Regions from separate parts of the Homo sapiens genome. Here all the other regions are linked to region 1. The links are contacts of gene promoters, found by promoter capture Hi-C in blood cells and fetal thymus (Javierre and others, 2016). All regions are on one chromosome and are shown on one strand. Each heading gives the region's core, a stretch centred on a gene start or on the middle of the fragment in contact. The rest is flanking DNA. Distances are from core to core; before and after follow the strand shown.

Region 1 (4,347 bases), core at 938-3,437:
GCTATTATACCCAAAGCAGGTAAAGGGGAGCTTAAGGTGTAATTGGATGTAAGAAAATTCTATCATCCCTAGAATCTTCTTCTCTCATAGGAGAAAATGGCTTTTTGAAGTTAAGGAACTCTAAAGATAGAACACCACTTCAGAATGATTTTGTCAAGGGTTTGTTAAGTCTCTCACTTATTTGCAGGTGTTTTCCATTAACACACATCTGTTGAAAAACCACACCACTAAAAAGGACCTTCTGAAAGATCTGGAATTTTATCTTTAGAATCATTCCATTAATTGAATTATCCATCACCCAGGAGGTTCTCCACATAGAAGCAGGTACTATGGGGACATAAAATGTGGAACCTGACCCCTAGACAGCTATAAATCCAATCAGGAGATGAGATTAATTCATATAACAGAAATTGAGACATTTATTATTCATTTATTTCAATTCATTATTACTTAATATGTATTCATAAGTTAACTAATAGGCAGAAAATAGGGTTTCTGTAATTTTGAACAGAACAGACCCCAAGTCTTGTATAGTTCCTGGTGGAAGGTGATCAGCGAGGTCTAGAATGATGAGGGAAGGCAGGAAGAGTCATAGAGGAGATAAGGTGAAGAAAATCCTACAGGGAGGGAATGAATTTGGGTCAAAAATAGGATAAATGGGAATCAAGCACAAGGCAGTTTCGGACAGGGACAGAGGTGAGCACTTGGGAACTTATTTTTTTTGTGAGCCAGTGGGAAAACCAAGGAGGCTAAACCATAGAGCCTGGAGATGTGAAGGAAGTACAGGTGGGTAAGAAAGGGAGAGCCAGATCACAAGCACCTTGAAACCAGACACTGGTTTGGGGTCTTCAGCAGTCCTCTGTCGAAATACATATATTCAGGGGCTGGGTGTGGTGGCTCACACCTGTAATCCCAGCCCTTTGGGAGGCAGAGGCAGGCAGATTACTTGAGGTCAAGAGTTCAAGACAAGCCTGGCCAACATGGTAAAACCCCGTCTCTACCAAAAATATAAAAAACTAGCCGGGCGTGGTGGCATGCACCTGTAATCCCAGCTACTCGGGAGGCCAAGGCAGGAGAATCACTTGAACCCAGGAAACGGAGGATGCAGTGAGCCGAGATCGCGCCACTGCACTCCAGCCTGGGCGACAGAGCGAGACTCCATCTCAAAAAAAAAAAAAAACAAACATATATTCAGGAAGAAAATCAAGGAGTAAATTGGAGGTGGCGGGGTGCGGTTGGTGGGTGTAGGCTGGACACTGTGCTGTGCTGTATTTTGTGTCACCATAGAAGAAAAGGAATATGGTATTCAAGTATCAGCCGGTGACCTTTAATTGTCAGTTCTTTATCTTGGGATAAATTCACAGACTGATTCACAGTTTTGCCTGCCACTGGCCATTTTAATGCCAGTAGTAGACAAAACCACCCTTCCTTATGGCCCAGTGAAACCTCATTACCTGTACTTTGTTGAATGGATGCTCTTTTGAATTAAAATCAAGATGTGGGGGCCGGGCAAGGTGGCTCATACCTGTAATCCCAGCACTTTGGGAGGCCAAGGCGGGCAGATCACGAGGTCAGGAGTCTGAGACCAGCTTGGCCAACATAGTGAAACCCCGTCTCTACTAAAAATACAAAATGTGGTGGCATGCGCCTGTAATCCCAGCTACTCGGGAGGCTGAGGCAGGAGAATTGCTTGAATCCGGGAGGCCAGAAGTTGCAATGAACCGAGATCGTGCCATTGCACTCCAGCTTGGGTGATGGAGCAAGACTCTATCTCAAAAAAAAAAAAAAAAAAAAAATCAAGATGTGAGAAAGTCTCCAGAGATGGCTTTTTAGGCAATAGGTCAGAAGAAGGACGAGGTATCCTGGTGTAAGTCACCTGAGGGCCTTGTGTAGCTTCCCTGAATGTGTTGCAATACACAGGGAGGAAGCCGTCTTTCCTAGATTTATACCCACTTTCAGATTTACACCCGCTCCCTAAGGCCAAGGTGCCTCTGGTCAGCAGTAGAATGAAAAAGAATTATTCTCACCAAGGAAATCTCTGTAGAAAAGTTGCTGTGAAACTGGAATAGGTGTGTCTTTCTGTCCTTCCGGTTCTTTTTATAGATACTGCAGGAACCTCAGTGAGAGCCTACGGTTCTTCCGCCCATTTGGGGAGAGATTAAAGAAGCTGAGGTTGGCTCTTTCTTACTCATTGGCAGTTACAACTTTGCCAGCACTACAGCCTAAGCTTCCAGAGTGGACACGGAGAAGGTAAGTTGGAATTGGGGGGCCATGTTCTCAGCTGTAAACCTGGGTCACTCCAGCCATCTGGTCTGGGGATAACTGAAGGGAAGTAGAGCTAAGGGGTATTCAATTGCAATTGATTTTTTTTTTTCAAATGAATATGTGGGATCTTTTTCCTAGGCTACCTCAGTCAAGACATGGACTTTCGTACTAAACTGTTCAAAAAGGTATTTAAAGAAAGGGACCATTTTGTACAATTCTTTGATGAACACACAATAGGTGTTTAACTACAACCTGCTGCATTGGATTGACTTGAATTAACTGAAAGAAGGAACAGTCATTAAAATTACTGGGAAATTTTATTCCCAGTAATTTATCTGCCTGTCTCCTTCAAGCAGTGCATCAGTGTCTAGAACGATCCAATGATCCATTAATGTTGGCAGTCCTTGTTCTGGAGTCTGATATAACTGAATTCCATCAATCATGCAAACATTCTCATACACCTCCTTTTATGAAAAAGATTTTGTATTAGCTTTCAAAGCCTTGGAAATTAGCATACACAAATGGACATATTATCAAGTGAAGCCTGTTCAGCTTTTCCCAGCAGGATGAAGCCAAGATAGTTTTGAAGGGTTTAGGTTGCCTTTCTCATTTCCTTTACTGACATCCTATATAAAACTGCTATAAATTTGGGGTAATATGTGTGATGGCATTTCCCATCCCCTTAGACTATGTTTGCATATATCTCTGAATTTCTTCCCCCAGGGAAGCTTAGCATTTAGATAAGTATCAGGAGTCAAACAAAATGTAACTCAGGCTCTTGACAGTGTCCTAGGAACAATTTTGGTAAGGACATTTATTTCATATGCCCAGGTGTCTTCATTTCAGAATGAGAGAAATTACAGTGCCCAGCATGGACCACCCAATAGGCATTCTTGTAGGTATTAGGTTGGTGCGAAAGCAGTTGCGGTTCTTGACGTTACTTTTTTTGTTTGTGTGTTTTTTGTTTTTCGGTTTTTGTTTTCAGACAGCGTCTCACTCTGTCGCCCAGGCTGGAGTGCAGTGGTGCGATCTTGGCTCACTGCAACCTCTGCCTCCTGGGTTCAAGCAATTCTCCTGCCTCAGCCTCCCAAGTAGTTGGGAATATAAGCGCATGCCATCATGCCCGGCTAATTTTTTATGTGTGTTTTTAGTAGAGATGGGGTTTCACCATGTTGGCCAGGCTGGTCTTGAACTCCTGACTTCAAGTGATCCACCCACCTTGGCCTCCTAAAGTGCTAGGATTACAAGCATGAGCCACTGTACCCTGCCTTGTTTTTTGCTTTTTGAGACAGAGTCTCACTCTGTCACCCAGGCTGGAGTACAGTGGGGCAATCTCGGCTCAATGTAAACTCTGTCTCCTGGGTTCAAGCGATTCTCCTGCCTCAGCCTCCCGAGTAGCTGAGATTACAAGTGTGCACCACCACACCCGGCTAATCTTTGTATTTTTAGTAGAGATGGGGTTTCACCATGTTGGCTAGGCTGGTCTTGAACTGCTGACCTCAAGTGATCGGCCCGCCTCAGCCTTCCAAAGTGCTGGGATAACAGGAGTGAGCCACCGCACCCAGCCTTCTTGCCATTACTTTTAATAGCAAAAAGCACAATTACTTTTGCACCAACCTAAGAGATGCAGAGTTGTCAATTTGTCTCATCCTTTTTCTGCAGGGCATCAGAAAACCATTCTGGTGAGGTCCACACCCATAAGTCACCATGTACAAGGACTGCATCGAGTCCACTGGAGACTATTTTCTTCTCTGTGACGCCGAGGGGCCATGGGGCATCATTCTGGAGTCCCTGGCCATACTTGGCATCGTGGTCACAATTCTGCTACTCTTAGCATTTCTCTTCCTCATGCGAAAGATCCAAGACTGCAGCCAGTGGAATGTCCTCCCCACCCAGCTCCTCTTCCTCCTGAGTGTCCTGGGGCTCTTCGGACTCGCTTTTGCCTTCATCATCGAGCTCAATCAACAAACTGCCCCCGTACGCTACTTTCTCTTTGGGGTTCTCTTTGCTCTCTGTTTCTCATGCCTCTTAGCTCATGCCTCCAATCTAGTGAAGCTGGTTCGGGGTTGTGTCTCCTTCTCC
Region 2 (4,347 bases), core at 1,147-3,646, 290 kb before region 1:
TATGTGTGTGTGGGTGTGTGTATGATGTAAAATGCATTTCTTATAGTGCATCATGATTTAAAAAAAAATTGGCTTAGAGATTTTAAATCTGTGTCAGTGAAAGACTGTGGTATTGTTAGTAAGAAAAAAAGACATTAACAAATGCCATTGATTTTAAAGATAAAGATTTTGAGATTAAAGTCTCAGCTGAATATCCAAAAACAAAGATGAGGCCAAGGCAGGTGGATCACGGGGTCAGGAGATCGAGACCATCCTGGCTAACACGGTGAAACCCCGTCTCTACTAAAACACAAAAAATTAGCCGGGCGTGGTGGCGGGCGCCTGTAGTCCCAGCTACTCGGGAGGCTGAGGCAGGAGAATGGCATGAACCTGGGAGGTGGAGGTCGCAGTGAGCCGAGATCATGCCACTGCACTCCAGCCTGGGCGACAGAGCGAGATTCCATCTCAAAAAAAAAAAAAAAAAAGATGAAATGGACAGGGGAAATGTCAAAGCTAGAGATATAAATTTGGGATTCATTTACAGAGAAATTATATGTGAAGCTATAGCAATGAATCAGGTTACTAAAGGAGAAAATGTAAGAAACAGAAAAAAAGTCCAGGACAAAACCTTGGCCATAAAAACACTTGAAGGAAAGGGGAAAGAAGAGAAGGCCAAAAAATATATATATATATATATTAAGAAGGAGCAACAGAGGTTCAAGGAAAATCAGGAGACTGAAGGACCAGGAGATCCAATAAAAACTGAATTTCAATAATCCCAAACATCCTAAAGAGTCAAGAAGGGAGATGTGGGTTAAGAAAAGCCACATGACACAGCATCTTGGAGAACACTGACAGTTTTCAAAAAAAACTATTTCTGCAAAGTGGTGGAAACACAAGCCAGGATGATTATGGCAGTATATTTTGTAGCGAGGGGAAGCATATATATATATAATCATTTACCTTATTTTCCAGCCTCATCAGATGTTTTCAAGGAACAGTTGCAGACTCATTGCCACAAAGTGTACGTCTTCACTAATTTAGTGCCTAGAATATTTTTGGAAGCACCTCAGGTTTTTCTTCAAGATGATGGCCATCAAGAACACCAAACATGCTTCAAGGGCTCAGAACAAGCCTGCCTTAGTCAAAGCATATGTTTTTAGTATGTTCAATGCTAATGACAAATCCTGAGCCTCTGGAGGGGTTCCCACCCCCCTACAACCCTATCCTTATCGTAGGAATGCCAGGAGAATTCATCTTTGGGGCGAAGACTGTCATTTTATTTGTGAAACACTTGAGTGGGACTTGTGGTTATGCAGATGTAAGACTCAGTGTCCAATCTAGGGGGAGGGATTAATACCATAAAGACCTCTGACTTCTAAACAGCAAAATGAAAGAGTTGTAGGCCTTGGGGGCAGAGACTGTCATGCTATTTACTTGTTTTTGGCTTCCTTGAGACTCTAGGAGTTGTGATTCAAGACGTGGGGAATAATGGGAGACAAGAATGCATGGACTATGGAAGAGTATGGCTCCAGCAAGATGGCAGAGACTAAGGAGGGAGACAACCCTGGGAGACTGCATTAGGGACTGGCCAATGGATTCTAGCAGCAGCAGAATCTGTTTTCCAATTTCACATTGTTTCTCCTCAAAGCTATACTTTTTTATAACCTAAGAAATGCATGTGTTCAGTAAAAAATTTCCTAACCCTTACAACCTGTCACTAATAACGAACTTTATTAAGTACTTACAACATAGCAAGCATTCTTCAAAGTGCTCTATGTATTTTAATGAATTAACTTCTCTGCTTTCTATTGCTTTTCCTTTATCTCTACCTCCCATTATTCATTCTCATTTATCTTTTCCATTGTCTTTCCCACTTTCTCCTCTCTCACTCCCTCCATTTTTTTCCCTCTACCTCTCTGTCACTCATTCTCACGGGCTCAATCTCACATAAAAATTAACTCGCAGAATGAGTTAACTTATTTAATCTTCATGGCAACCCAGGGAAAAAAGTATTATTATCAGCCTCATTTCACTGAGGTAAAAAAACTGAGTAAAAAACTGAGGTACAGGAGGTCATACAAGTAACTTAAGGTCATACAACTAGTAAGATTCAGAGCCTGGATTTGAACTCAAGAAGTTTGACTGCAAAGCTTATAATCTTAACCATTGCTACTCTCCATATCTTTGTGATTGCATTGGCTTTGGAAATAAAGGGAAGATCTACAATGACATCTTAAGATGGAGCGGACCAGAAATTGTGGTGCACTGTGGAGAGGCAAGGTGAGCCCAGCAGGAGAAACCTGGGATAATCTGCAGTAAGCCCTTGGCAATGATTTCAGGAGAATATACGCACTTCCTGGGGATGCCTAGAAGCCATCGAGAAGTAGCCTAGAGTTCCCACAGTATCATAGGACAGAGATTTTTAAGGAGAAATTTGCATATGAAAAAGAATGGGTTCTGCTTCTGTGAAATGTGATAATATATGCACGGTGATTTTCACTATGCTTGGATGCTCAGTAATTGGTCACTATATATGTTAAGTCTTCCTGCCCTTTTCTGATACTCTTTCTAACATCCCTTGAAGGGCAGTCCAAATTTTCACTCAATTACCATCATTCAGCTAACATTCACTGTCTGTTACTTGCAGGTCAGCAAGTTGACTCTATGGCACAAGCTTCCCCTTTTCTGGCAATGTTACTTCTGAGCCATGTTTGCAGCCTCCTAAGATGCTTTGCATACTGGAAAATAATTAAACTTACCCACAGATAAATAAACCAGAGTGAATCCATTTTTCTCTATTAATAAAGATTTATGTGAATATTTTTAATGAAGGTAACTGAAAGCAGGTGGAGGAATACGAAGTGTGTACGAAGCAGTTAGTAGTCAACTCGGCAGAGATCGAAGTGTGTCAGACTAAAACAAATATTAGTAAGAACAACATGTGGTCATTTTGCGCCTTTGTAGGAGGAAAGCCAATGAGAAACTTCAGTGTGGAAACATAACTGCTCTCCCACCAAACCCAAAAAGAAGCTAAACTGCTTATCAGGCATGGCGAGTATATGGTATGCGGTCAGCCTTATTAGCATATCTTAATTGAGAATTAGACCGTCATGGCAGAACACATTGTAAGTTTAAAACTTGGGAGACAAAATAATTCATTGAAATTCCCAAGGCACATCTTGTTTCCTACCTATTCCTTGAAATGTTTTCCTTTTTTTTCTCTCTTTGTTTTCCTGTTATTCATTTCTTCCTTCTTTCTTCTACCTTCAGCCATGCTCTCAACTTTCCTGTTCACTATCTAAATCCCTCCTTTTATACAATTATGTTTGTGATATATTTCCGCAATTATCAGAAGTTATTACTTCTTTTCTCTCCCCTCTCTGCTTTATATTGCTTTTCCTTTATCTTTGCCTCCCATTATTCATTCTCATTCATCTTTTTCATTGTCTTTCTCCCCTCTCATTCCCTCTGTCTTTTCCCCTCTACCTCTCTGTCACTCACTCTCACAAGCTCAATCTCACATACAAATTAAATTATTATAAAGAATTTCTTTGCTGGTTACAAATTCCATTCGTGCCCAGGGACTTAGGATTGCATAAGATTGGATGCATCTCACGCCCCGTTGCTCTAAACTGAAAATGTTTTCTTGACCCCCTCTCACTTCACACTACTGGAGGAATAGCATTATCCGTTATCTCCCCAGAGCAGCGATGGGAGGAACATACTGCTGAATATACATTTGGCCATGACTGCATCCATATTATGGAAGACATCATTTGCTCTTAGAACAGAGGACATCAGCACCGGCATTCACAGCCTCATCTGTTAAGTGTGTTTCCCTCATTCTGCAGTTGCTTAGCTCAGACCGGCGAGTACCTGGTGGGCAACCCTTCCTCTGAACTTGGTGGGGAATCATACAATCTGTTGAACTTGGCTCACATATAGCCTAGGAATGGGTACCCCAAATATTCCAGCACTGGTAGTAGTACTGGTAGGTGGTGTGTTTGAAACACAATCTCAAATAAAACAAAGCAACCATATCCCATGGAACTGGCTGTTTATCTCACATACTTGATCTGGTTGGGAGATGAATCAATGAGATCTGAAGTATTTTCCAGGGTACATACACAATGCTGTTGGTCTAGGCCTTGGTGTTATTCTCATGAGTGGTAGTCTAAATTGCAGAGCCATGCAGAGGGACTTATATTTGCCAGGAACGTATTAACTATATACTGCTTTCTGGGTAGTGGCTGGGACTTTGGAATAATTATTCTACAAGTTCACATGAGCATGAAAGATCTGACCCTGGGTGGGTCTTGGGGGCATTTTCTCTTCATGGCAAGCCTTGATAATGCCAAGCTCTAG
Region 3 (4,347 bases), core at 1,364-3,863, 270 kb before region 1:
CCTTCACAAGTAACCTAAGACATCTTTAGACTAAGGAGCAAGATACTTAAATGTCCAGCCAGCTCCTTGTACTTAACATGTCTAGATCTGAGTTTATAATCTTCCCCCTCAAATTCTTCCTCCAGCTTCCCTCTTTTGTTCATGGCGTGGCCAGTTCCCCCAACTCCAGTCTGGTAAATCAGAGTAATCTTTGTTGCCTTCTCCCTGAAATCTTGCTGAATCACATGACATCTAAATCATACCTTTTGTATTATATTCATCTCTTCCATTCCCATCCCACCCACTTTGTCCAGTTCTTATTACCTCTTCCCTCAAGTACTACAGTAGCCTCCCAACTATTTCTCCACCTTCTTCACTTCTCCTGCAACCCCCTGTATAATCTGCCAAATTCATCCTTTCAGAGCACATTCCAGTTATATCATTGCTCAAAAACGTTTTAGGAATTCCCATTATCCTTCCAAATCATTGTGAAATTCCTAACCCTGAGAGTCAAGACCTTCTGCAGTAAAGCCCCCAGTCTACCTTTCCAAATGGGTCACTTGCTCCAGCCAGCTTTTCCATCGCTATGATTTCGTTGGCTGATCTTTCAACTTCCAACTTCTTTACAACTTCCAACATTTTATTCACCCTTAAAGTTCATCTTAAATGTATGCACAGCTGGATGAGGACCAGAGCCTATTCAGCTACTTTAAATAAATGCAATGCTCTAAAGCAGAGGTCATTCTGCCCAGGCCTAAGGGCTGTACTACTTAGGAAACCCATGGATGTTTTAGGAGAATTTTATGAAAAAAATATATATGTGTACACTTTTACAGAGAGGGCTTTAATCACTTTTAATGACCCTAAAAATAGTAACAGACAACCCCCAGAGGCACATTTCCTCCCTTCTCTCTCAGCATCAATGGCACTCCGCCTGCATTGGAACCACCTGTCCAATTCCCCGAAACAGTGAGTGCCACAGGGGACCGGTTCTGTCACCCGTGATGATGTGTCCCAGCACCTTCCCCAGCCCTTCTCACACAATTATATTGAACATCTGCTAATTGCCAGGCATCCTGCTAAATGCTGAAGGAAAGGAAATGAAATATGAGTTCCCTGCCCTCTTGTAGCTCATGGTCCAGTGAGAGAAGCATGCAGTTTAACCCACTATTCAAATATTCTGTGACAAATGCTCTGATGAAATACACATATGATATTATGTAAACATTGACAAAGCTCATTTCAGTAGGGCCTGGGGCATCAGGCCACCCTTTTGGAGATGAGGAATGTGCTCTGATCCTGTGAAATCAGGATGAGTTAGCCGGATACCAGGGGAAGGACCTTCAGAAAAACAAATGACATGTGGGGAAAACCCCCACAACATGGTATAAGTGTGTGTTTTAGCCCTGGGATAGAGTGGCCATGGGGGAAAAGGCAGCAATAGACAAGTTCTGAATTTTATCCTGCACAACCTGAAGGAGAAAATGAAGGATTAAAAGCAGGAGAATGGCACGCTCATATTTGCACTGCAAGAAAATCAGTTTTTGCAACAGAGTGGAAAATTAGTTGGAGCAGTGAATTCTTATGAGCCTATTCAGCTACTTTAAATAAATGCAATTAAAGGTCTAAACTAAGATCACACTGAAGGGAATGGAAAGAAAGGGAAAGAATCTAGAAATATTTGGGAATTAGAATCACCAAGATACAGTTATTAATTAAATGTGAAGAATGGGGGAGAAGGAGGAATGGTGAGTGACGCTTGGATATCTGGCCTGTAATTCTAAGTGATAGGTGGCTATTTCCTGAGATGGGGAAGTCAAAGAAAGGGAGGAGAACTTCAGGGGTTCAGTTGAATTTGTAGTTCTTACGGCCCTGGCTTCAGAAAGCTGATCTGAGTCTAGATGCAGTTTTTGGATTCATTCCAATATAGGTGATCATTCATTATAGGAATTTTAATTAAATCCCATGCAAAATACAAAGATACAATAAGCAGCAGGCAAAAAAAAAAAAAACAAAAAGGTACAGGCTAAGAGTGCCCATTGGATTGGAGAATATAAAGTGAATCTTGATCCTCAGCAGAGCTATCACTTTGGAGTGCTGAGGGCAGAAGCTGATTGGCTCCAGGGAGGCCCGAGGTGAGGGAGTGGGAAGAGAGGCCTGAGCCTTGCACCCTTAGATCAGGCGGGAGGCCTTCTCTAGGCCTGTGCTTTCCTGGCTTTGCTCCAACCCTCCTCCAGCCACACCCTCCCGGGGGCAAGAAGTCCTTGGGCTCAGGACCAAAGGAGCACACCCACCTGGAGGCCACACCCTGCTGCCAGACTGCATTTTGATTGCTCGTGCTGCCAAAGTCCCTGGCCAAATGTCCTCATGCTCATGACTAAGCCCCTCTCCCTGGGCCTGTCAAATAGAGAGTGGACTGTGTTATGGGATGGCCTATGAGATGGCCCAGGGGCAGCTGTCTGCAAGATGGGGCATGGGTGAGGGCTGTTCTCAGATGTGTGGGCCGGAGTACCCACTCATATGCACTCCGTGTCTCTCATGGTGGGAGATGGGGCAGAGGAGGAAGGGAGAAGAAAGTCAAGCTATGAGCAGAGAGCCTGACACCCACTCCCCCAGTAAGCCGACTTCTACCCCAGGACTACAAGGAGTCTGAGTTTTTTCAATTTAACCTGACCTTCTAGGTATTTCTATCAAGGTAGGACAATAGAACACTTTTATTTAATGGCTTGTTAACTTGATATTACAACTTTCAAATATGTAGATATATGGTGTGCCTCTATGTGAGCTCTTACCCTTGACCCCAGAGACAGGGCCTGGTGGAGACGGATAATAAGAGACCAAGAGGCAAAGTATTAGTATAGAGAGGAGTGATTTTTTTGTTGTTGTTTGTGTGTTTTCTTTTGCTTAAGATATGGTAAACTTAAGCATATTTTACCCACAAGACAAAATCTCCAGTAGAGATATAGGGAGAAGAAGAATAACAATAGAGCATCCTTGAAGAGCTAAGAGAGCACAGCCTTCTGGCCAGGCACGGTGGCTCACACGTGTAATCCCAGCACTTTGGGAGGGCCGAGGTGGGTGGATCACTTGAGGTCAGGAGTTGGAGACCAGCCTGGCCAACATCTCTACTAAAAATACAAAATATAAAATTGAGCCAGGTGTGGTAGCACACGCTTATAATCCCAACTACTTGGGGGGCTGAGGTAAGAGAATTGCTTGAACCCAGGAGGAGGAGGTTTCAGTGAGCAGAGATGGCGCCACTGTCCTCCAGCATGGGTGACAGAGCAAGACTCCATCTGGAAAATAAAAAAGAGCATGGAGTTCAAAACTGGTGGTAGTGGGTGTTAGCTCCAGAAATTAGGAGCCACGCACGTTCCTCTGAATTAGGAAGAGTGGTTCTGGGGAATAAGGACGTCCAGGGTAAGGTCAAGAGAATGACCGGCTGAAATGAACCTAAGCTGAGCAATGAATAATTGTCTGCATTTATCTTTTATCTGTCCTTCCAGGAGCTCTGACAAGTACTAAATACAATGAGACGTAAAGAATTTAAATTATTCTGGGGAAAGAAATTAGTAGTCAGTTCTGGTATGCCATGTTGAAGTAAATTTCATAAGTGAGTATATGGAAAGAAATCTGGAGTTCAATATCACTGCCAGAATATTGCCTTGCTTTTTTAAAACAAGGTGACTAAATGTCAGACTAATTAGTGTAATCCATTTCACCCATAAATCTAGCACTATAATTCTCAAACTTGATTTTGCAACCCTAGTAACCTCAAGAGCTACTGCAAAACTATATCCAAATACTCAAAACAGGTTTACTTTTGATTCACCTTAAAAATTATAAGGACACATGTGCTCAATGTCAGCTTTTTATAAGACAGAGGAGAAGTGGTGAAATCAAATTAAAAATAGTACGATTTCATAATGCCCAAAAGCCTGTAAATGTCTATACTAAGGAGTTGGAATCATTCAAAATTCCCAGATAAACTGAATTTAAGCATTGATACATGATATGGTTTGGCTGTTCCCCCACCCAAATCTCATCTTGAATTGTAATCCCCCAAATCCCCATGTGTTGAGGGAGGGACCCCGTGGAAGGTGATTGGATCATGAGGGTGGTTCCCTCATGCTGTTCTTGGGATAGTGGGTTCTATAAAATTTATGGTTTTATAATGCAGTTTTCCCTTCTCTTGCATGCTCTCTCTCCCCTGTCACCATGTAAGACGTACCTCTTCCCCTTTTGCCATGATTATAAGTTTCCTGAAGCCTCCCCAGCCATGCAGAACTGTGAGTCAATTAAACCTCTTTTCTTTATAAATTACCCAGTCTCGGGTATGTCTTTATAGCAGTGTGAAGACGGACTAAT

The links. Contacts are between HindIII fragments. The CHiCAGO score rates a contact against its expected background, and 5 or more counts as called.
Region 2: a contact is called between a fragment that was not itself captured here and the fragment with the promoter of GPRC5D in region 1, in 4 of 17 cell types (M0 macrophages, M2 macrophages, M1 macrophages and 1 more). The highest score is 6.5, in M0 macrophages.
Region 3: a fragment that was not itself captured here is called in contact with the fragment with the promoter of GPRC5D in region 1 in 2 of 17 cell types (monocytes and naive B cells); the score reaches 6.6 in monocytes.

The regions. Positions count from the first base shown.
Region 1 is chr12:12,950,010-12,954,356 of GRCh38, reverse strand. It overlaps GPRC5D (G protein-coupled receptor class C group 5 member D), which reads left to right and starts at 2,187. Exons shown (of 4, transcript NM_018654.2): 1 at 2,187-2,250; 2 at 3,928-4,347. The coding sequence starts at 3,973. The region is part of intron 1 of GPRC5D-AS1 (GPRC5D and HEBP1 antisense RNA 1); the gene reads right to left. The HindIII fragment of the contact is 5,823 bases long and covers 1-2,229 here.
Region 2 is chr12:13,236,946-13,241,292 of GRCh38, reverse strand. No RefSeq gene overlaps it. Among named protein-coding and RNA genes, the nearest start is that of EMP1, 42 kb to the right of the region's middle. The HindIII fragment of the contact is 524 bases long and covers 2,135-2,658 here.
Region 3 is chr12:13,220,256-13,224,602 of GRCh38, reverse strand. No RefSeq gene overlaps it. Among named protein-coding and RNA genes, the nearest start is that of EMP1, 26 kb to the right of the region's middle. The HindIII fragment of the contact is 5,422 bases long and covers 1-4,347 here.